Linked DNA regions of Homo sapiens: region 1 is linked to region 2. The links are contacts of gene promoters, found by promoter capture Hi-C in blood cells and fetal thymus (Javierre and others, 2016). All regions are on one chromosome and are shown on one strand. The core of a region is centred on a gene start or on the middle of the fragment in contact, and the rest is flanking DNA. Distances in the headings are between cores, read along the strand shown.

Region 1 (6,595 bases), core at 1,755-4,254, 4.5 Mb before region 2:
ACGGGATAAAAAGACTGAAGAGCCTTGTCCCTGATGACATCACTAAGATGCTGAATCAATCAGCCCTGGAGACTGCTCTGTCCTGGGACCTACTTTTATGGAGAAAATAAATAATAATTTTATGAATACTGAACCCTATTTGAGTCAAGTTTCTATCCCTTTCATCCAAAATCTCCTTAACTTACCCAGTTTCTTCCTAACATTCTTAACATTGCTGAGCTAACCTGCCCATCCTCAGGCCTTCCAAGAGCAGGAGGTGAGGTATGGGAGCCAGGGAAAGGTGAAACTAGAGGAAGTCTTATCGCACAAAAATGATAAACCATCTAAAAAGACCACAAGAACCTTTGAATTCTTCATTTGTCACATGAAAGTCCTCATGCCTGGTACTAACCCATCATGTCCTTGCCCTACACCCAAAGTATGAATAAGAAGAAGGTCGTTAAATGCCCTCTAGAAGGTGGGTGGTGCCACTAACAAAAGGTAGGATGGAGATGCTGGAGCCTGTCGTTAATGAGCTGACAGCCTAACAGAAAAAAAAAAAAAGGCTATAATTCAAGATTCACTGTATTACACATCAAAAGAAAAGTACAGATACAGTGCTATGTATCAATGAAGGATATCAATGAAGAGACAGATGTTTTTAGTTGGAAGAGATGACTGAAAGCCCCACGAGAAGATGCTTTTTGAGTTGAGTCTTCATAGAGCTAGAATTTGGATATAAGAAGATGGGGAGAACATTCCAGATGGAAGGAAGGAATCACAAGAACAAAAACCAATATATGGGAAACTGTGAGATTCCTAAAGGCTGGAAGATATTCAAAATGTGACCCAGCACTGGCCAATTAGAACAGTTACCAGTCTGCAAGGCTGAAGAAAGTCCTAGAGACCCTCTGTCAAGCCATGCATTAACCCTTATGTTACCTGGTTATGGGAATTGGGTGGACCAGGAGAGGGACTGGAGTGGCTGGAGCTTCAGGTGGGTGGCACTCAGGGGTTTAAGCAAGAGGCTATTTAGCAAGTGATAGAGAAGAATTTCAATATTTTAACAACCAGCGTGTGGCACCAGTTCTTACTAGTGAGAACCGGCTAAAAAAATCAACCCTGCCTACAGGAAACAGTGAAAAGTTCCACTTCACTAGAGTTCACAGTGAATGAAAGGAAATAATGAAAAAATAGCTGGAATTAGGCCACGAAGGAGTTTGAATTCCAAGATGAAGAATTTGGACAAAAAAATTAAGCAATACAGATCCACTGAGAATATTTTGATGACACATTCAGATCACAATGGATTGAACATGGATCTGACATGGTGTGGCTTCCTCAGAGTAGAAATTTAGCATATATGTGACAATTTGCTGTGGGTCATTGTGAAAGAGAAAATTTCTCAGGTCTCCCTAACTACAGTGAAGACCTAAAAAAACTATAAGGGAATACTTTAATGACTTCCAACCATCAGCATGAAAGATGTCTAGAAGAAAATGAAGAGAAATGTAAATGTGTGCTGACAATGGCAGAAAGCAAACAGTTAACTCCCATCAGCAATCACAGGGACTCGGCTGCTCCAAGATGCCATCCCACAGAACACCTGAGAGAGCTGAGGGCCAGGAATTAGAGCAGAGGCAACAGGAAGTGAGAGGCGCTTGAAGGGATAACAATAATGACCCTCCACATTTGCAAAGTGCAATTTACAAGGCACCCTTTCTTTTAATCCACACGGCAATACTGCGAGTAGTAATTAACATTTGTATAACACTATACCATTGAAAGAGCCCTTTTATATTCATTATTTCCTTAATTCTCCCCGTCTTACACCTGAGAAAACTGAGGCCATTAGAAAACAGCTTATCTACTAGGGGAGAAAACTGGAACTCAAACTCAGGCCTTTAGATTCCTTGTCCAGCATTTCCATTTACGCTAGTGTGGCCTCAGGGACTCTGGGGTTATTTCTTAATCTTACAAATGTGGCCTCAGTGCTCCAGGCAGCAGCTGTAGGTTGTAAGAGAAACCTAAGTATCTCCCCTTACCGTTCTCCAAGGGGTAAACCTTCTATCCCAGGACCTAAATAGAAATAGGCTCACCCTAGAGACCAGGTGCACACCTCCTGGTGCAGAGGGCTCAAGCAGTTTCTGGAAGGATCCCATCCCATCCCTGTTTTGTTCATCAAATTAGATCTGGGAATCCTTAAAGGCAAGAATCATGACTTTTTGAAATCTTCATATCTTCAGACCAGGATGTGGTACTTAACAAATACTTGTTGAATAAAAATGAATATATACTCCAGCCTGGGCAACAGAGCGAGACTCCGTCTCAAAAAAAAAATGAATATATAAGTGAATATGCATATAATACCCTTGGAAATATCTTGAGATTCCCCCTCTGTCCAGAAAAAGAAAAACAATACAAAGAGCCAAACAATTCTTGAAGCAACAAGTTATTTAATATTAAGTCATAAGTTTTTATTTTGTTTTGTTTTTCCAGACAGGGTTTCCCTCTGTTGCCCGGGTACAGTGGCACAATCAAAGCTCTCTGCAGCCTCGACCTCCACTGCTCAAGTAATCCTCCCACCTCAGCCTCCTGAGGAGCTGGGACTGCAGGCACACTCCACCACATCTGACTAATTTTTTTAATTTTTGTAGAGAAGAGGTCTCGCCACGTTGCCCAGACTGGTCTTGAACTACTGGGCTCAAGCGATCTGTCCACCTCGGCCTCCCAAAGTGCAGGGATTACAGGCATGAGCCAGCGCACCCAGCCCCTCACAGCTTGTTAACCTCCTTCATGTCCACTCCACTTAAACTGGAATCAGTTTAGCACTCATCATGCTTAGATTTTGTCATCATTTATAAAGGCTCTGCCTACAACATGTTAAACTCACTGAAAAATTAGACTATACCAATAACTTCTTACATGCCAGCTCTCTCCATCCCTCTTTTCCACTTACCTTGCTCCTTGATTTTGTGGAGCCTTCCCACCATCCACCTTCTGTGTCCTTGCTCCTTCCTTCTTTGTCCAGCATGCAGTGCCAATCAAGTGAATTCCTTTCTCACCCATGCCCTCAACTCCTTCACCCCTTTATCCTTTGTTTACACCCATACACACACACCTAACCCTAAATTCATTCCACAGCCCGTTCTCTTGGATCTGATGACTAAACTTCGAAGCACACCTGGAAGAAGCCATACAGCCACACAATCACACAACCATGTGGATTGAAGTCACCACAAAATGATAGGTCCCTAAACTTTCACACCACTCAGCCATTCTGGTTCAGCTCCTCTTTCCATTTCCTCTGAGACCACAGGACCTCCTCAAGTCCCCTACCCAATGCCTATGCCCTCTGTGCCCCCTACCCAATGCCTATGCTCACAGATGCCTTACTTCCTGCCTCATAGCATCAAAAAGGCCATGGGAAAGGATAACCCTGTACAGCCCAAACCTACAAGCTATCTACAGCCTCCCTCCCACTCTTCTCCTTCTCCACCTCTCTGAAGTAATTCCAGTCACCCACGGCTCCTCTGGGGTCTTGTTTCATTGTTCACATTCTTTCAACCTGGAATCTTTGACTTCTCATTCTGATAACTCCTTCTCCACAGCTTGTAAAACTGTATATTTTTAAATATACCCTTAATCCTAGATCCCCTCTGGCTGCCACTTTCTCCTTTTCTTCATATTCAATTTGATCAAATGAGTAATCCATAACCCCATCTCTACTCTTCATCTCTCTTCCTCAGTCCACTGCCATCTGTGTTTCTTCCTACCACCACACTAAAACTGCTCTGGCAAAGGTATCCAAGGATATGATTGCCAATCAGGTGGACACATCTCAGCCTCCACCATACTCTGCCTCGCTGAAGTCTTTCACCTTGTTGACCACTCCCTGTATCTTGGAAGTCTCTCTTCATGAGCTTTGATGACACCAGAGAAGCCTCCTCCTGCTTCCCTGATCATCTCTCTTCTTTCTTCTATGTTGGATCATCTTCCTCCACTTGCTCTATAAATATTGTTTATTCACCTAAGTTGAGCTGGTCGAGCAGCATCTGAACAGAGACTTCATCTGTCTTGTTAACCACTACAGCCTCCATGCTTAGATAGCTCTGCACACATGAAGATTCTTCTTATATATCTGCTGAATGAATGAGTGAATGTTGGAAATACTGGAGTGAACAGTGCACCATCTCTGCCCTCAAGCATCTTGGAATCCAGTGAGGAAGATGATTAAGTAAACATAAAATGACAGTAGAGTATGATGGGATTATGATACAAGGAGCTATGAGAGAACATAAGATAGATACTGGACATGCTTAATTCCTCCAGCATCAAATTGTCCCACTTACCTCAGACTCAATTTGATCAATATCGAATCGAACCATCATCTTCCCTTAAGCCCCCGAAAATGTTATTCAGTTTATGTTCTCTATCTTGGGGATGGTACTGGTACCACAGGGCTATCAAGCTAGAGTCCTAGGATTCACGCTTGATGCCTCCTTCCTCTAATGCTCCACAGCTGAACAGTGGTGAAGTTAGGTTGGTTTTGCCTTCTCAGTATTTGGTAATTCCCTCTCCCCATCTCCATGGCCATCTCACCCTGGTTATTGCAACAATATTCTAATATTCTTTGCCTCTAGTCTTTCTTCTTTCTAGAACATGTTTTCTACAGTTCCAAAAGTGAAGGGGATCACGTCACTGTCCTGCTTAAAAATCTTCAATGTTCCTTGATACATAACCCTAAGGTTACAATCCAAACTTCCAAGTATATCTCCTAATGAGCTGACCCTTGTCTCTCCCATCTCACATCCCACAGCTTCTGCCTCACATTTACCATCACCCCATACCCTAAGTCTGGTTCTACTGAACCACCTGCAAGTACTGAGAACACGAACAATGTTTCATCCCGAACCTTAATTCTGCACAAGCCACTATGTAAAACTTCCTCTGAAGACACTGCTGTAAGTCCTAAGCATTAAACATGAATTAACTCTTAATCCTCACAACAACTACTATTCTCTCCACTTTACAGATGAGGAAACTGAGACACAGAGCCAACAAATAACTTGCTAGATTTCATATAGCTAATACGTTGTGACACTGGGATTTGAACCCCAGTCTTGTGGCAGAGCCTGTGGCTGTAAATACTGTGCTATCTTGCCTGAGTTCACCTTTTTTCACTACCATGTTCATCCACCTGGTGAATTCTTATTTATATTTCAATACCCACCTCAAGCAGCACTTTTCCAGGATACTTTCCCTCCTCTCCCAGAGTTAACCTCTCATTTCTTTCCTGGCATTTGTCATTGTGTCTTGGTCACACCCCTGTTATTGCATTTGTCACTGTACTGTGTCCATTTCAGAATCAACCCAATGCTACACAGAGATCAGACTGCACATAAGAATTACCTTGAGCCATGGAAGTTCCTACATTTATTTCCTGATAAGCCCTTTTACCCATCTGTATATTATTTTTGTCTCTTGCTGTCAGTTTACCAGCTCTCACTCATCCTCAGCTCCTTGCTGGCTCCAGCCCTTCAGTTTGATTCATTGTTTGCCTGCTTTGACAAATCTACCTTGCCTGCTACCTTTCCTGAACTCTCCCTCCTTTGACTGATAACCTAGAAATGAACCCCTTTCAGCGTGACCCTGGGGAGCAGCTGTCAAGCAGGCAGCCCTAACTGGGTGGGGCTGATCCCCCAACCTGGCTCTGAACAAGTCATACTTATTTGGTTTAGCTTTTTCCTTTGGTTTCATTCAAGCTACTTCATGGGGCTGAAGAGTTATTGAAAGAATAAATGTCATAGAGAAAGTAAGAAAAACTAACAACTAGGTTTAGGAAGAACAAAAACGCTAATGAAGTCAGACTGCAGGCTCTTCACTCCCAGTGGTTCACCATTTTCACAATTCAGCGAACACCCAAGTAGCCTTTTCTTTAATTTACAGTTAGCAATTGGCTTACATTCCCCTCTGTCTATTTCTTCCAAATTTCATAGCTTCCACTTACTCATGATGTCTTCTCCATAAGTTTTATTTGCCATGACTTCATGGTTCTGTCTATGCAAATGTTCAGCTTCAGCTCTTCTAAATGCCTAATTTTCTATGTGCTTCTAATTTCAGTTTCCCAAAAACAAGAAGCTTTTTGGCCCTAGTTCATCTTTCCATGTTATGTCATGAAACATCCACTACCAGCCATCCTATAGATTGGCAGTGCTGGTGTCCAGACTAACTTCAACCCAGTCCACTCTAACAGGGTCACAGTGTGTCAAATCATGCAAAACTTGGCCACCTGGGCTGCCCCTTGAGCACAGGTTCTAAGTGAGGCATTTTCTCTTAAAAAGAACTATAGTGGCCGGGCGCAGTGGCTCTCACCTGTAATCCCAGCACTTTGGGAGGCTGAGGAGGGCAGATCACGAGGTCAGGAGTTCCAGACCAGCATAACCAACATGGTGAAACCCCGTCTCTACTAAAAATACACAAAAAATTAGCAGGGTGTGGTGGCGCACACCTGTAATTCCAGCTACTCAGGAGGCTGAGGCAGGAGAATCGCTTTAACCCGGGAGGCGGAGGTTGCAGTGAGCTGAGATCACCCCGTTGCACTCCAGCCGCCTAG
Region 2 (6,697 bases), core at 2,961-5,460:
AATCCCCTTCAGTAAAGCTATATGCAAAAGCCGTATTTGTAACTAGTGAGTTTTGGGAATGTCCTGCATGTTGTGTTGGTTTTACTTTCAGCAGGACTAGAGACTCTAGAATTTTTATTTATGCAGAGTACCTACACATTGCACCTTTAAAATGTCATAACAGTCTTCAGTTTTCTTCCCCCAGAGTTAAAGATGACCTGTTATCACTGCTGTCTGGCTCTCCAGTTCTGTTAAATCTTTCCTCTGACCAGATCCTCGTTTTACTCACTCCTCAACTCCCCACTTGGATTACTCCTCTTCTTAGATTACTCTTCCAATGCCAACTCAGACTGCCTCCCCAAGAGGCAGCTCCCCGGTGAGTAACACACTTGGGGTGGGGGAGAGTATGTCGGAAGTGATCAAAGACTTGCAAATGAAGTGCATACCGCTCAGAGGAGGAGGCGTTGGCCACAGGTGCCAAATGCAGACCACAGCAAGCTGGCAAGCTCCGGTTTAGGTTGTTGCTACAATGTGGGCTGGGCACATCCCTGTGTAACAATGCTGGGTATGTAGAAATGACTCTTATTTTTCTCATGACACGACTTAACCACACATTATGTGTGGGTTCCCAAAGTATAGGCATCGAACCTATGATTTATGTGTGGGTGGGCATGTCTGTCTTCTAAAAAAACTATTAAATTAATCTTAAAAAAAAAGATGGATTGACAACACTGAAGACAACACTCCACTGAGTACTAGAGAAAGACACGATGTAGAAAATGGTGATGCCAACATTAACACAAATCTGCCTCCGTGGAAATGACTGGCATTTCAACCAGACACTATATTCTTTCCAAGAAAGGCCACAAATAGGAGGAAGAGAGAGAGAGAGAGAAAAAACATTCTATCTTTGATATCACTAAACCAGTCAGATTTTAATAGCACAACCAGAGATCTGCTAAAAAGGTATTTAATTTTTTTTTCCCTTTATGAGTCCTCACTGGGAGGGGTAGGATATGTGTCCTTGCTGGGAGGGGTAGGAAAGGTCATTTTATTATATTGTCTTTGGAATTCCAAGATGACAGTGATAATGGTGGAGTCTCTTGCAGCTGAGTGTTTAGTACCAGCCCTGGAAGAACGATGGAATCAGTAAAACGAGATCAGAGTCTCACTAACCACGGTCAACATGAATTATCCAGGTAACAATGTTAGGCTGCTCACTACAAGAGTGAAGTTACTTCATGGCACAAGTGTAGGGGATTAGCAGATATTATTTGTTGGTCTGTGTGCTAAGAAAAAGAGAGAGAGTGAAGGATGGTGAGAGAGGGAAGGAGAATTTTCTGCTCTTTGGAATTGCTGGGCTCCCTGTGAATAGGAATGGCACCAGTGGAATGGAGGTTGGCTGGGGCAAGGGGAACTCAGCCACACAGAGAAAGAGAACAGTTAGCTTATGTCTAGTTACACACTTTGAGTCAATAACTTATGCAACTCTATGCACTCCGTCATAATACTTGCATGCTATTCAACAAGTATCATCAATATTATGATTACTGGTTTGTGTGACCATGTGGTTAATGTTGATCATACCAACAAGACTGTAAGTTCCCTGAGGGCAGGGGTATATCTGCCTTTCTCTTCCTATATCCTCAGTGCCCAGTATTTGCCTGCTGCAGAGTAAAGAGCCCCAAAATATAAGTTGAATGAACAAATGAATACATGAATGAATTTATGCAAATTCATGTTGTGGACCCATGTTTGCATATTTGTACCATTTGATGACATGAGCAGGGCAGAGTGTGCTGCTGTAATCCAGCACAGCAAGCAGAACTACAAAAGGTGCCTCTCTTTGGTTGGCCAAGTGCTGGAGTTTGTAAAATCAAATGTGGGTGTGAGGTAAGGGTACCCGGCATGAAGACCCTTGGGGTACTCTGAACCCCAGGGTGTGGTCTAGATGTTACCACAGCTTTGTTGCACCCGCCTCAGATCAGTGCTTATCTCTCTTGGACCTTAACATCCTCATCTATAACATGATGGAATAACACTTCTTTTTCCTTGCAGTTCTTAAATTCTAACATTTTAGGAAGATATCTGGACCCTGAAATCTTGTCAGGAACAACCATGGTAAGATCTCTGACTATAAAGTAGAAAACAACTAAGTTTTCAGATATATATATGCATAAAATACAGCTTTATTTTAATAAAACCTTAAATGTAGGGGGACCTTCTTGCCAGATCCAGGCCAACTAATGGCTTTCCTTCAGCTTTTCCCATACTCAGAAGTCAGGTTTCCAGGCCTCTGTGAAAAGCACATAAATATTCTCAGCCAGGGCTGGCCCTTTGCTTCAATCTCCAGCTATCACAGGGAGTCAGTCTGATAAACATTTGCAGTTAGAATGGAAGGAGGCACAGCCTCCTAGACTTTTACAGATTTTTTTGGACAAGTAGCAGAGTCACAGAAAACCTAGAATTAGGTAAGAAAGCAGAACTCCTCCAGAGAATTCAGAGAGAGCTACAACTGAGAGCCTTTAAACAATCAATGTGTAGGAACAGAAGAAAGGAAATCCACAATTCAAGAAAATAAGCAGACATTTTTTTTCCTCAAAAAAAATTGTTAAGATGAATGTTAGGCACTGATTTTAGCCCTCTGTTCCATCCCTCAAGATGTCACTTGAAAAAGCAAAAGGTTTTATCCACAAAACCACCGGCGAGTAAACAGCCTTCACATTCTTAGCCTCGTACACACACAGTAAGATATTTACTCTCTGATAAACAGCAATTGTAAATAAATCTCATTTAATCTCTAAAAGCCACAATAAAAATCTTTAACCTCCAAGGTAGAGTTTACAGATGCGTCTGCATGCCCTGCCAGCCCCAGAAAACACAAGGTCTTGAATAAACTACTATACCAGGAGGCACATTTTCTCGCTCAAGCATCTTACATTGACCTTCTTTAAAACAAAAATACGTACAAGGAGGAGGAAAGGGGAAAACCCAACCCCTCCCACCCCATTCTCTGTACAAATCGGCCAATAAATCTAACGAAAAGACACAAGAGAAAAAGGACAGAAGCCAACAGGTGGAACAAGGCTTTTTGTTTCCTTAGAAATGCTCAGACACTTGATCTGTGCTCCTCAGTCTATTTGTCTCAGGGTGTCTTTAATGATGTTTTTATTACCCTGATGATGATGATCAAGAATAATGATAACACTTCTACTCTGTGATTCCACAGCATCTCTAGCTGACGATTTCTCCACGCGTTTCAGACACAGTGATCTGTTCTGTTTCGCTCAATCCCAGGGAGGCATACAGCATCCCTGATCAGCAACCTTGATTTTACAGATGGGGAAATTGAGGCACGGGGCACCCCACAACTCAACAGTCTCTACGACCAGAGGAATCCCTGAGACTGGAAAAGTTTCTGGATCGTCTTGTGGCAGAGTTCTCTTGCTCTCCCTTCTTGCCTGCCATGCCGCTCCTCCTCGGAGAGTCTGGGCTGGGGTGGTAAGGATCGGGGTGCCTCCCCTTCACAGCGAGGCACGCCAGGGCAGTGTGTGGGAAGTCCACACGCACACACAGACCCACGGGCACACTGGCACACACAAAGCTCGATGCAATCTCTGCAGTCACTCGGCGGAGCCCTGGCCGGCCCTTGCTCAGCCTGAGAATGCACAGCTCGGAGCCTGCAAGGCCTCCCTGGGCTCTGGGCTGGGGTTTCCCTGAACCAAGGCTCTGCCCTTCTCTCCCTCTTTTCCAGGCTTCCCTCTCTCGCGCTCCCTCTCTCTCTCTCTTTTCCCTCCCACCCTCACACCCTCCTCCCAGCCCTCTCCATCCACCCCTTCTCCCCCACCAACCCAGAGGCACAGATCGTGTTACTGGGGTTCCCTCGAAAGAGGGGCCATCCCCAGTCCTGGATGCCTTGAAAGACTTCCAGGGGCAACGCAGGAGCTCCAATCGCAGGACCCCAGCGCTCCTCCAGAGCAGCGCAGGAATGAGACCCCCACTTCCAGGCACAGGCGAACAAGCCTGCCACCGAAGAAGGAATTGTTAGGGCTCTTACCTTTTTTATGAGGAGAAATTCTGGAGAATCATTTCAGAAACTGAGGGGGGAAAGTGAATGAAGACAAAAAAGACCCTTTTCCCGCAATCCCTGGCCTCCTGGTATCAAGACACCAGGACAACATCAAAGCAACTTAGGGGGAACACTTTAGGGGCCTATTGTCTGCTCTGGTCTGATCTGTTTTTCTTCTGACTCCCCCTCTTGCTGCGGTGACACTTGGTACGGCCCAGGCATTCATGCCAAGTAGCTTTCACACATGGAAGCTTGTCTCAAGCAATTGCTGACAAGCCACAAACAAGACATTCTCCCTCCCTTCTCTGCGCCCCCCCACTCCTCCCCCCTCCACCTTTTCCTCCTCCCCTCTTGTCTCCCCTCCTCCTTTCTTCTGAATGCAAACTAAAACTCTCCAGTGACAGGCAGGCTCGCAGGCTTGGCCTAGCTGCGCACGCAGGCACACACACACACACACACACACACACACACACACACACACACACTCTCTCTCTCTCTCTCTCTCTCTCTCTCTCTCTCTCTCTCTCTCTCTCTCTCTCTCTCCTCTCTCTCTCTCTCTCTCTTCTCTCTCTCTCTCTTCTCTCTCTCTCTCAAGCAGCTCAGCTAGTTGCTGCTGCACTGGTGGAGTTAAGAGACAGGAAAAAGCCCAGGCTGAGTTGGGGGCAGGGAGAAAAAGAGAGGGAGAGCGAGAGCAGAGAGCCGCCTCCTGTGTCCTAGTAAAATGGCAGAAGAGAGGTGAGTCCTTTGGAAGAAAAGCAGTGGCCACACACGTGTGCACACATACACAGACTCAGGCCATCTCAGCGCCAGGAAAAGTGAAATAAATGACCCGACAAAGGAAAAAGCAAAGTCCCATTAGCTGGAGATTGGGGGAGTAGGGAGATAAGAGGGTGAGTGGCCCCAGGACTGGGGTTTCTGTTGAGTGGTTAGGTGATTTTTCTTCTTTACAATAGAGAAAAATTTGTTTCCTAAGGATCTAGCCTTCTTTCACTGCATAATTGAGCATGGACTTGAGCTACTAGTTAAAATAAAATCATGAAATGTGTAAATGTGTGAGTAAACTTAACTGTAGGTTCAACTTGTACCCAAGATATTTTTAAAGTGAAGCTTTTTTTATTTTTTTTTATTTTTTATTTTAGCAGAAACCCTAGAGAGCAGTAGCAAGGAGAGTAGTAACAAGTAGTGTAAACTAGGAGAGCTGTGAAGTGTGATGCTAAAGTTACTGATTGCCAGGCTGCTGGAATTTATGGAGGGTGGGCCTGAGAGTTGGAGGAGGGGAGGGTGAGTGTGCTGTTTTCTAGGAATAAGAGGGGAATGAGGTAGGATAATGAATATGGCAAGAAACAAGCAGGAATTTGATTGGTGTGGAGGGAGGAGGTGGGGGCTGTAAAGGAGTGGAGAGAGAGAGAGAGAGAGAGAGAGAGAGAGAGAAACAACACTGCATTAAAAAAAGAAGAAAAATGGAAGCCCAGAAAGATTGAAACATGCAGAGTAAATGAGATGGTAAAAGAAGGCATAAAATGTGAGCAAAAAGGAGCACAAAGGATGTGCAAATTTGCAGATGGCATGAAATCAGGAGGGCCAATTGAGATCAGGAAGAAGAATGACAGGATGATTATATGACATTCATATTTTTAGATACTGTGGACTCACAGACCTAACAAGGTCTCCTCTGCCTAGGCCAGAAGAGTTATCCCTATGCAACAGGATCTGAATGGAAGCTTAGCTCCTAACTGCTGCTGAATCAGTTCTGTACTTTTTCATGAAGATTGTTTAGACTCTATTCCTCAGAATCTTCCTTTACAAAATGGAAATTATGAGAACACACATCACTCATTCCTTCATAGGTATGCAGTAAAGAATAAATTATGACTTCTTTCATACTTAACACCAGCTAAATGAGGTGTCACTACCTAAAACTCACCACATCAAAGACACAGACTTGTTCCTGTTATTTTCCCCCTTAATTTGCTCCTCCATTATCCCTGATCCCTGAACTGTCTGTCCCGACTCCCATTAATGATGATGATGTGGTAATATAATAATAATAATAATAACCTTTTTTTAAGTATTTACTTGATTCTTAGCATTTTCCCACTCATTTGTATCATGAAGTAATTTTTGTTATGATCATTTCCATTTACAGATGATAGAAAAACGAGGCACAGAGAGGTTAAGCAACTTGTCTGAGGTCACACAGCAAGGCAGAGGTAGAGCTGAAATCCAACTGAGGCCTGTGTGATTCTAAAGCCCCAGCGTTTACCCGCCATATTATGCCTTCTCACTGGAGTAGTCCAGGTACTCCATGGCACTTCAAGTCCAGTCAGCCATATAAGTACACTGTTTTTTCTGTACCCCAGGGTTGGGTTTGGATCCTTTCATTTTGAGCCAGGGGAACTTCTGACCTCCCCTTAATAGGCTACTGACTCACTGTCCACTTCTAAGTGGTGGTGACTCACTATACACAATGAGGCCTCCCAGGCAAGAATTGCATAAAGGGTCGACTTAACCTTCAATGACTGCACTATTTTCAGATTGCTAGGCAATAGAGAAAGGCAGCTAAGACCAGAAAAGCTTCCCTTTCTTAAGTATAAAAAATTTTTTTAAATAAAAAAGCAAACTAAAAAGGCCCATAGATATTGATGATAA

What was found. Contacts are between HindIII fragments. The CHiCAGO score rates a contact against its expected background, and 5 or more counts as called.
Region 1: a contact is called between a fragment that was not itself captured here and the fragment with the promoter of BCL9 in region 2, in 1 of 17 cell types (fetal thymus). The highest score is 5.2, in fetal thymus.

The regions. Positions count from the first base shown.
Region 1 is chr1:152,039,110-152,045,704 of GRCh38, reverse strand. No RefSeq gene overlaps it. Among named protein-coding and RNA genes, the nearest start is that of S100A11, 5.4 kb to the right of the region's middle. The HindIII fragment of the contact is 6,236 bases long and covers 1-6,122 here.
Region 2 is chr1:147,539,014-147,545,710 of GRCh38, reverse strand. It overlaps BCL9 (BCL9 transcription coactivator), which reads right to left and starts at 4,210. Exons shown (of 10, transcript NM_004326.4): 1 at 4,037-4,210. RefSeq lists enhancers at 103-621, 4,165-4,224, 3,785-4,539, 4,258-4,552. The HindIII fragment of the contact is 5,169 bases long and covers 1-4,301 here.